2 separate regions of the Homo sapiens genome follow, and region 2 is linked to region 1. Evidence: promoter capture Hi-C in human tissues and cell types (Jung and others, 2019). All regions are on one chromosome and are shown on one strand. The core of a region is centred on a gene start or on the middle of the fragment in contact, and the rest is flanking DNA. Distances in the headings are between cores, read along the strand shown.

Region 1 (5,777 bases), core at 2,013-4,512:
AGCCTGGCCAATATGGTAAAACCCTGTCTCTATTAAAAATACAAAAAATTATCCAGGCGTGGTGGTGGGCACCTGTAGTCTCAGCTACTCGGGAGGCTGAGGCAGGAGAATCGCTTGAACTCGGAGGTAGAGGTTGCAGTGAGCAGAGACTGCACCACTGCACTCCAGCCTGGGGGATGGAGTAAGACTCCATCTCAAATAAATAAATAAATATAAAAATAATAAACTAAAAAACATGTTTTAGTTGTAGAATCATTAAAACAGAGAGACTAAAAATACATAAACACACAGAAAGAGAATATCAGCCATATGAAACAGGTATAAGAGGAATTTTTAAGACCCAAGTGAAGATATTAAAAAATGAAAAATATAACAGATAAAACAACACGAGTAATCACAAAATAATACTGCTGAAGAATAAAAACTGATGCAAAGAATAAAATCAGTGGAGGAATAATCCAGCTGAAGAATAAAAAATAATGCAAAGATCAGCAGCATTTATCACATATTCCTGAACATTAATAAAATACACATCAATAGTGATAAGTATTAAAAGCTAGTATCAGGTTTGAAAAAAATATAAATAATTAGCAATTCTACTGAAAATGAGAAAATAAAGGCCTATATATTTGTTAATAACAATAAACATGATTCAATTTTTGGAGAAGCAGTATCTAATGTTCAGAAGATCATCCGATATATATGAAGAGACCAATAATAGGATTTTTTTTATTTGCCAGAAACCATGGCAAAAGTTGATGGTATCCTGTTAGCACATTTATGCAAAACATAAATATCAATACCAAATAGTATAACATACTATTTTAGAGAATAAAATATAAAAACAAATAATAAAACTTACAGATGTTATAAATAAAACCACTTTGAATAAAGTTTTAAAAACTAATAATTTCTCAATTATTTTGGACATATGGACAGCAGATAACAATTGTTGATGTAATTATGGATTTCCAAAATGCAGATATTTCAATATGTGAACATTTATTAGGATTTTAACAAGTAGATGACACCCCGCTGGAAAAGAATCATATATATGTGTAAGAGACTACTCATAAAAAATTAAAATTAAAAATATATAATATATATGGGGCCAGGGATACATGCCCTTAAATATGTCTGACAAGCACAAACAGAAAATTCTCAAAAATAAAAATTCTAAACTAGGTTGTGAACAATAGAACGAAAATATCTTAATAGCACTGAAAATGTTTATTTCATCCAAGAATTATACAACTGCTTTTTTGTTTCGATGAAACACTATAGTTAACACTATAGTTAACTGAATGCATAGTTGCCAAGCATAATTTTTAAATCATAATCAAATATGACTTTGCAAAAATAACTTGTCACTAAAAATCCATTTGAAGGAAGAACACAATGCTCTCTTGGAAATTACTGATGATAATAGTAAATAAACACATTATAGAACTTGAACCAAAGCCCCTGCAAAATATTCCCTTTTACATTTTTCGTTTTTTTGAGACAGAGTTTCGCTCTTGTCGCCCAGGCTGGAGTACAATGGCACAATCTTGCTCACTGCAAACTTTGCCTCCCAGGTTCAAGCGATTCTCCTGCCTCAGCCTCCCAAGTAGCTGGGATTACAGGTGCCCACTGCCACGTCCGGCTAATTTTTGTATTTTTAATAGTGACAGGGTTTCACCACGTTGGCCAAGCTGGTCTCGAACTTCTGACCTCAGGTGATCCTCCCACCTCAGCCTCCCAAAGTGCTGGGATTACACGCCTGAGCCACTGTGCGCCCTGCTCCCTTTTACATTTTTCTCATGCCGATTGTGACACGATGCTTTCAGTAAAAATTAATGATACAAGCAAAATGATGCAGAAACCAAGATTAAATTTACAAAATTGAAAAGCCTCAAAAGAATTCTGAATAAATTACATTGCCAAAGAAACTCCATCAAAACCTTCAGGTCCAAGCAAACATCAAAAATTCCATCAAAACCATCAGGACCAGGAAACAGGACGTAAGAAGAGTGGCCAATGAGCCAATAAGTAAAACCAAAAGGTTATATATACATAGAAAGCAAGGAAAAGAAAATATCACCAAGGACCGAGTGATGAACTACGTCAAATGCTGAGTCAAGTAAAATGAAGACTAAGCTGACACTGGATTTGGCAACATGGAGGTAGGTCATTTGTAACCTGAAGAACGGCAACAATTTCAGTAGAATGATCGAGGTAAATATCTGACTTACCGTTCAAAAGAGAGGAAGTAGGAACAATGAATTGAATATAAGCACTGTAGAGAAATTTTACTATAAAAGGGAGTAAAGAAATACAGTATTACTAGAAGAAAACATGGTCAAGAGGAAAGTTCGATGGAAAAAAGAACAAGTGTATATGCTGTTATGGATTGCATTGTGTCCTCTCTCCCCAAAAAAGTGTGAGGGAGGGAGGGAGGGAGGGAGGGAGGGAGGAAGGGAAGAGGGGAAGGAAGGAAGGGAGGGAGGGAGGGAGGCAGGCAGGCAGGCAGGCAGGCAACGCTCACTTGGTGCAAAAAAAAAGAACCTGACAAATGCTCCGATGAAGTTCACATAAATACAAAAATAGTCACACGCAATGAATACTCGTATTAGCAAGCAAATATTTAAGGACTTTACATATTTAATTCATTTATCCCTCCTAACAATGCTAGGAAGTGGATGTCAGCATTACTTCGCCCAAGTGCATCCGTCCCTTTCCGCCACCACGACAAATGTTTTCTGGTTTCATCCTTCAAGGATTAACTTACATTCATTTCAAATCCTTTAATGATAAAGTGTACAAAATAGAGGAGAGCGGCAGGGGTTGGCAGGGGACGTAGGGAAAGGATGATTTGCCTTCGATCCTACATCCTGCATAAAAAGCAGCACAACCGCCACGGAGGCAGCCAGGCAGCGGGAAAACTAAGTGCAAAGCCAGGACTCTCCCGAAACCCTCAGGTCCTGCTAAGGGAGCCGCTCCCGAGGCTCCCCGCCCTGTGTACCTGCTGAGACTGTGGGAAGTCGGGTGACTGGGCGGTTTGGCCTTGCTGGCTCTAAGGTGAAAAACTATTTGCCTGAGGAAGATGACAATTCCGAGCCTGCCAGACTTCCTTCGAGACGGAAGCCTGAAAACTCCTCAGACTCCAGCACCTCCCTTTTACAAACTGACGTTTGTGCTGAAAGAAAAGGCCCGGCCTCTGCGCCCCCGGGCGGCAGCAAAGACCGCCGGGCACCCGCCGCCGGCGCCGGATGGGGCCGTTGAAGCCACGTCCCAGGCGCCCGACGCCACGACGCCTTGGCGCCGCCGGCGTCGCTGACGCTGCGAGCGTGAGCTGCGCGCCGAGAGCGGAAGAGGAGACGCAGTTTGGCGGCTGTGGGGATTTGCCGGAAGGTTAATAATGTCCATGGGCACATCGGCCTCCTCCTTTCTTATTCTCTCCCAAGTGTAATTCCAGGACGCCCCCTGAGCGCAGATTCATCCAGGCATTTGGCCTAGAGGCCCGCGGAGGAGAAATAAAGTACAGGCCTGGTAGGACCTTTGAGAACCTGGGCTTCAGCTACAAAACCAGAGCCCCAGTCCTTCATCTGCTGTCTCCTCAAGCTCTTTTCAGTGTATTGTGGAGTTCATTACCACTCTAAGCTCGCACGGAAGTGTACACCAGCTTCGTGATCTTAAAAGCAAAACAAAATCAAATGGACTAGGAATTAACTTGAAGCAGAGTTGTGACACTTAAGTGGTTTCTTGCCATCAGTTTCCACGCACTGCTTTAAGATGCAATTTTACAAGGTAGAGTTTTTTAGATAATTTGACCTCAAGAAATATATTAATTTTGTCTTTAAGTTGAACGAAGTAAAATGTTTTTAATATTTTAAAATATTAATTGATACAATTTAACTGTTAATAATGCCTGTGTGTAAATGAAAGGAATAGGAAAGATGGAACTAAAACTAAAAACCAGGAGGTTTAAAGGAGACCTTAGATTTGACTTAGTAGATTTCAACTATTTTCTAAAACTCTGAAAATTCATTATATCTAATTATTTCTAATTTTCCAGTAAAATCTGAATGCCTCACAAGAGATTCCTGAAAATTTATCAGCTCCCAAGAGCTGGTGTAGGCTAGCTCCATCACACCACTAGGAGTTACCATTGGGGTTGCCTGGAAAGGGAAAACAACACATCTTCTGGTGTACCAGAAATGTTCTGTCTTCTGCTCTTTCTGGGTGTGTTCAAAAATTCATGAAGGCAGGCTGGGCGTGGTGGCTCGCACCTGTAATCCCAGCACTTTGGGAGCCTGAGGCAGTGCATCACTCGAGGTCAGGAGTTCGAGACTAGCCTGGCCAACATGGTGAAACCCCATCTCTACTAAAAATACAAAAATTAGCCGGGCGTGATGGCGGGTGCCTGTAATCCCAGCTACTTAGGAGGCTGAGGCAGGAGAATCACTTGAACCCAGGAGGTGGAGGTTGCAGTGAGCCGAGATTGTGCCATTGCGCTCCAGCCTGGGCAACAGAGCGAGACTCCATCTAAAAAAGAAAAAAAAAAAAAAACATGAAGGCATATGCTTATTTATGCACTTTTCAGTATGTGTGTTTTATGTCAGTAACAAAGAAAATGTACATATAAATGATCAGATTTATTAAGCTTTCCACCAACAATTTTTTATTTTTTAAAGTTGGCAATAAAATTAAGAAAGTAGTTTAGAAAGAATTGAATTGCTAAATTCCAAATCTCCCAAAACCGTTGTAAATGAAAGGGATAGGAAAGATAGAACTAAAAGTCAGGAGAGATTAAAGAAGACCTTAGATTTGACAAAGCCAATTTCAGTTATTTTCTAGAACCCTGAAAATAGATTACATCTAGTCATTTCTAATTTTGTTGGTAAAATCTTAACGGTCAAGTTGTCAAGTTAGCATACATTAGCAAAACTCTCAGCATGAGTCTAGCCAAAAGTTCACCATTCATATCTGTGGCCTTAATAGCACAGCTAAGAACCACAGAAAAGTTATCAGTGCTGACAATGTAAAGCAAAGAAGTTTAAAAAGTTAATAAATTTAAGCATGTAATATCAAATTTTGCAGTGGTTTGAGTCTGTGACATGAATCGATTATTCTTTGAAAACAAACAATACTTATGAATAGAGAGGAACTTTTTCATCTGATGAAGGACATCTGTGAACTATCTCCAGCTAACATCATTTTCAATAGTGAAAAATTGATTTTTCCTTAAGATTGGAAGGAGGCAAGGATATTTGCTCTCACTATGTCTATTCAGTATTATACTGGAGGTCTTAACAAGTGCAATAAGGCAAGAAAAAGAAATAAAGGCATAATGATTTCAATGAAAGAAATAAAGCTGTATTCCCAGACAACATACAATTTCCAGACATCTACAATGAAAACTATATAACATTACTGAGAGAAATTAAAGAAGATCCAAATTAATGGAGATTATGTACCATATTAATGGATTAGAAGACCCAATATTGCTAAAATGTCAACTTTTTAAGTCTATGTCTATCAATATTTATCTACACATTAAATGCGTTTATGATCAAAATCCAAGAAGATTATTTTCTAGAAATTGGGAAAATAATTTTGCAATTTATATGGAAATGAAAAAGGCTAGAGCCAAAACAATCTTGAAAAAAATAAGCAAATATTTAAATGACATATACTACAGGTTTTCAAGAGTTATAAAGTTATAGTAAAATAGTATATTACACGAAGTTAGACAAAAATGGAACAAATAGAGGGTTAAGAAATATATCCACATA
Region 2 (5,777 bases), core at 1,251-3,750, 91 kb after region 1:
TCCCAGCTACTGAAGGCTGAGGCAGAAGGATCACTTGAATCCAGAAGTTTGAGGCTGCAGTGAGCCGTGATAGCACAACTGCACTGCAGCCTGGGCCACAAAGCAAGATCCTGTGTCAAAACCACAACAAAACTAACAAACAAAACCAGAAAAGACCAGAAGAAACAGAAACACAAAGTGTTAACCTTATTATAAATAAATCAATTGAAACAAAAAATATTATCTCGTTCCAATATACATGCTGCTGCAGTGCAACTGTCTTATTTTTTGTCTTATGCGTCTCGTGTTTGGGAAACCAAATTCAGAAGAAATCTTAAGATCTGGATGTGGCTTTTACCTGTGTCAGTAATTCATGTAGAGAAGTCATGTAGGTCTTTGGTTTCCAAGCTTCTACAGCTTTAACTCTGGAAGATACGTCATGTACTCTGTTCTAACATGGGAGGCGCTGAGGATGATAGCTACTCTGTGTCCCTGGCTATGTCCTGAAGCTTAACTGATTTTTGACTTCAAAGTGGTCTCATTCTTGTGAACAAGTACTTAAACAATGATTATAGGAGGGTACTGGGAAATCACTTTTTTGGGGGCTTTGGTAAATTTTTTTATTTTTATTTTTTTGATGCGGAGTCTCGCTCCCTCGCCCAGGCTGGAGTGCAGTGGTGCGATCTCAGCTCACTGCAAGCTCCGCCTCCCGGGTTCACGCCATTCTCCTGCCTCAGCCTCCCGAGTTGGGACTACAGGTGCCCACCACCACGCCCAGCTAATTTTTTGTATTTTTAGTAGAGATGGGGTTTCACCGTGTTAGGCAGGATGGTCTCGATCTCCTGACCCCGTGATCCGCCCGCCTCGGCCTCCCAAAGTGCTGGGATTACAGGCGTGAGCCACCGCGCCTGGCGGTAAATGTTTAATCAACGTGCGCAGGCACCACTAGGCCTATAACTTCCAATTCACGGCTCAGCTCACAGAGTCTATTTTCCTCCCACGGTGTCCTAAAGAAAATGGGTTTACTGTGACCTCCTCATTCTTTTTGATTCTCCTCGTTGATCTCCTCCTTGAAATGCTGACCTCATTTGGCTTGTCTCCAGGCTTGTCCCAGCCTCTCCCTCTGTTCTTGTCCTGGGTATCTTCTAGATGTTGGTATTCCCCAGGGCTCCATTCTCTATGCTCCTCTCTCACTCCCTGAGTGAGTCTTCACACCAAGAATCCCACTCCATGGGCTTCCAGTCATTCACTTTCCCTTCCCTGCTCTGAAAGGGAAGGGGAACTAGATTCACAGTGCTTACCTAAGCAATTGGCACAATGTTACTCAAGGTGTCATGGAGAAGAATAAATATAGTGAAAGATAAAACATTTTATTTCACTAATCTTAATTTATTAGATGATAATTCTGTACCCCAAGTTTCAGTAAGAAAACAGAATTTCCTTCCTCGTGTTATAAAAGCAAAAGCAATTCATGATATTTTCTCTCTCGAAGCCCTTCCTCCCTGACAGTCTTTGTCTACCACCCACTAATAAATTGTACTTAAATGTTCCAACATATGTTTCTACTTCATTAACAATTTTTCTCTAAATTTTGTTCCTTTGTTCCTTCACCCATCATGTACCATCTGTACCATACTGATTTGTATGTGCATTACTTAGTAAAACTAATGCTTAAGTAGTCTATCTACTCAAAAGTGTAAGGCACTGGCCAGGTGCAGTGGCTTACACCTGTAATCCCAGCACTTTGGGAGGCCAAAGCAGGCAGATCACCTGCGGTCTGGAGTTCAAGACCAGCCTGGCCAACATGGTGAAACCTTGTCTCTACTAAAAATACAAAAATTAGCTGGGTGTGGTGGCGCACGCCTGTAGTCCCAGCTACTCGGGAGGCTGAGGCAGGAGAATGGCTTGAACTCAGGAGGCGGAGGTTGCAGCCAAGATCATGCCACTGCACTCTAGCCTGGTCAACTCTGTCCCAAAAAAAAAAAAAAAAAAAAAAAAAAAAAAAAAAAGGGTAAGGCACTAAAGGTAGTGTGTTCTTTGTTTTTGTCTTTCTACCATTTATAACCTTGCACCAATGCCTGGCCTACACATAGTAATCTGTCAGTATGTGCCAGTCAATGGATTTAATGGGTTGACAGTAATTTAACGTAATCCAGTTTAGATAAATACCACCAAATATTTCTAAAATGTATACAGTTTAATTTGTACATTTTTCTAAGATAGACTTTTATTCTGAGAAATTAATTGTTGGGATGAGACATGGAAGAGACTACCGAATAGTTCCTCTGCTAAGGAGTAAATTATTATTTTTCAAGTTCAGTTTCTCAACAGTTTCCTGTTCACGCATCCCACCACTTCTCCAACTGCAACTAGTAGTATCCTCCTTAAAATGCTGTCATAGAGGTATCAACTGCTTGCCAGCACAGTGAGGAAAAGATCAGATGATTTACAGCAGTGGTCCCCAGTCTTTTTGGCACCAGGGACTAGTTTCATGGGAGACAACTTTTCTATGGATCCAGGGGAGGGAGTGCTCCCCCTATGAGGATGATTCAAGTGCATTACATTTATTGTGCACTTTCTTTCTATTATTATTACATTGTAATATATAATGAAACAGTTCTACAACTCACCATAATGTAGAATCAGTGGGAGCCCTGAGCTTGTTTTCCTGCAACTAGACAGTCCTATGTGGGGACAGTGATGGGAGGCAGTGACAGATCATCAGGCATTAGATTCTCATAAGGAACATGCAACCCAGATCCCTCAATGTGCAGCTCAGAATAAGGCTTGAGGTCCTATGAGAATCTAATGCCGGGTGAAGCTTGGGTGGTAATGTGGGCACTAGGGATTGGCTGTAAATACAGATGAAGCTTTGCTGGCTTGCCTGCCACCCACTTCTGTGCTGTGTGGCCAGTTACACATTACACATTTACAATAAATGTGTAAATCCCAATACATTTACACATTTATTGTGTAAATCCTAAGGTTATAGAAAACCTAAACCTTAGGATTTACACAATAAATGTGTAAAGACATTCTATTTAGATTACATAGAAAATCTAAAATGTATTGTGTGACATCTTTTTTAAATCCCAATACTGCTGCAACTACAATTCTCAGATAGTCCCATTTGTTTAAATCACGCATTTTCTTTCTTTTTTTTGAGGCAGAGTCTCACTCTGTCGCCCAGGCTGGAGTGCAGTGGCACAATCTTGGCTCACTTCAAGCTCCGCCTCCCGGGTCCACACCATTCTCCTACCTCAGCCTCCCAAGTAGCTGGGATTACAGGCGCCCACCACCATGCCCAGCTAATTTTTTGTATTGAATCATGCATTTTTCATTTCTTTTTTGTTGTTGTTGTTAAACTTCATATTGAAGATAAAGTTAAACTGAAATAACTTTGAGTCCATCCTGCTACTGTTTGCTAAGATTGATAATTTGCCCTTTATTCTCTTAAGGTACAGATATATTGTTTCTAAATATATTCTGAATGATTTTATTTTATGTGAAAAATAGTTCTTAAAGATTATGTACAGACCTCCATGCACAAATTACTCAGTAAGGAAATCAGTACTTCAGATATTGTTTCTGTGACACCTTAGTAAATATATTGAAAGGCAACTGTAATATTTTCTTTCCAACATTTCCTAGATGAAAAAAACAACATACTATAAAGGGCTTCCAGTGTTTGTTTACCTAAATGTTATGGTGGAAGAATTGTTTGCAGTCATTTCTTTATGTAGCTTATTATGAAAGTAAAAAGCAGGAAGTTAAGAGAAATGATTAGAAATGATTACTTCAAGTGATAATGTATTCAGTATTCATACTTTTGCAGAATGCTTTAAATTATTGCACTACATCACTTTTTAATGTAGAGATCATTGTGCATTTACATGGTTTAAAGATATTAATTTCACATTTTCCCAATTAAATACAAATACAGTACCTCACTTTATTATTAGTCCCGTGAGGATGTAGAGACCATATCTTGTTTATTATTGTTTCTCCAACACAAACTGTCTTGCCTTAGCTCTTAGTAAACATTTGATAAATATTTGTTGAATGCTTGAAGAAATGAGGAATCCGGACTCCTGCTACCAAAACCAGTATTATGATTTTTAATCTTGTTGTCCCATCAAAGAGAGTTTAACTCTTTGCATCACTGTCCATTCTGGCTGTCATTCTTTCCTGCCTGGCTCAGAAAAAGACAGCCCTAAAATTAACCCATTTAAATGATTCTTTGCTTTTAGTATACAAACATGCCCACATCTCTCCTACTTTCAAAAACAATGAAACCCTTGACTTCAAATAGCTACCCCTTTCTCTCTCTCTTTGCCCTTCATTACCAACCCTCTTAAACATCTCTTTCTTCGATTCTAGTTCGCACTTCACTTCAATCTGGGACTGCACTCTGGAATCAGATACCAGGGATTTCTTTTTTTGCTTTTTTTTTTTTTTTTTGAAATGGAGTTGTGCTCTTGTTGCCCAGGTTGGAGTGCAATGGCGCGATCTTGGCTCATTGCAACCTCCGCCTCCTTGGTTCAAGGTATTTTTCTGCCTCAGCCTCCTGAGTAGCTGGGATTACAGGCATGTGCCACCACGCCCAGCTAATTTTATATTTTTAGTAGAGACAGGGTTTCTCCGTGTTGGTCAGGCTAGTCTTGTACTCCCCACCTCAGGTAATCTGTCCGCTTCAGCCTCCCAAAGTGCTGGGATTACAGGTGTGAGCCACTGTGTCTGGCCAGATAGATACTAGGGATACTAAGCACTGCCTCTTATCAGCTTCCTGGCCATAAGCCAGTCACACAACCTCTCTAAACCCAACAGGAAATACCTAACAGGGCTGTCACGAAAATTGAGATAATGCATTTAAAGTATTTCTGCATCACCTAGTACATACTAGGTGTTCCATAAATGGTAGCTATTCTTCCTGTTGACTGAAAGCATAATAGGAGCTCAGAGATGAGAAAGACTGGGGGAGGCTTATTTTGCATTTACCTAACTGCTCACCGATGCTTCAGATTAGGAAATTAGGGCCCAGAGAGTTTAAGTAGTCAATGTTTCATGGGGGAGGTGATATTTGAGCTGGATTTTGAAGAATAATAACAATATCTTACATCTATTGAGGGTTCACTGTGGGCCAGGGATGATTCTAAGTGCTTTACATGGTTTGTTTTACTTAGTGTCCAAAACATTCCTGTGAAATAGGATTTCGGTAGACAGTCTGAGGCAGGACAGGGAGGACAGACTGAAAAGAATCAATACAGCTGGGCGGGGCGCAGTGGCTCACTCCTGTAATCCCAGCACTTTGGGAGGCTGAGGCGGGTGGATCACGAGGTCAGGAGATCGAGACCATCCTGGCTAACACAGTGAAACCCCATCTCTACTAAAAATTAAAAAAAAAATTAGCCGGGCGTGGTGGCAGGTGCCTGTAGTCCCAGCTACTCAGGAGGCTGAGGCAGAAGAATGGCGTGAACCTGGGAGGCGGAGGTTGCAGTGAGCCGAGATTGCGCCACTGCACTCCAGCCTGGGCGACAGAGCGAGACTCTGTTTCAAAAAAAAAAAAAAAAAAAATCAATATGGCTGGGCACGATGGTTCATGCCTGTCATCCCAGCACTTTGGGAGGACGAGGTGGGTGGATCACCTGAGATCAGGAGTTTGAGACCAGCCTGGCCAACATATGGTGAAACCCTGTCCTTACTAAAAAAAATACAAAAATTAGCCGGGCGTGATGGCGCACACTTGTAATCCCAGCTACTTGTGAAGCTGAGGTAGGAGAATCACTTGAACCCGGGAG

What was found. Contacts are between HindIII fragments. The study calls those that stand out against the background at their distance.
Region 2: a contact is called between a fragment that was not itself captured here and the fragment with the promoter of CCDC7 in region 1, in 2 of the 25 tissues and cell types used here (H1 embryonic stem cells and dorsolateral prefrontal cortex).

The regions. Positions count from the first base shown.
Region 1 is chr10:32,443,625-32,449,401 of GRCh38, reverse strand. It overlaps CCDC7 (coiled-coil domain containing 7), which reads right to left and starts at 3,262. Exons shown (of 44, transcript NM_001395015.1): 1 at 3,005-3,262. LOC101929431 (a long non-coding RNA gene) reads left to right here and starts at 3,346. Exons shown (of 3, transcript NR_120660.1): 1 at 3,346-3,789. RefSeq lists a silencer at 3,092-3,321 and an enhancer at 3,392-3,711. The HindIII fragment of the contact is 7,178 bases long and covers 1-5,433 here.
Region 2 is chr10:32,351,819-32,357,595 of GRCh38, reverse strand. The region is part of intron 1 of EPC1-AS1 (EPC1 antisense RNA 1); the gene reads right to left. It also overlaps a transcript of EPC1 not described here. Among named protein-coding and RNA genes, the nearest start is that of EPC1-AS1, 7.3 kb to the right of the region's middle. The HindIII fragment of the contact is 4,123 bases long and covers 439-4,561 here.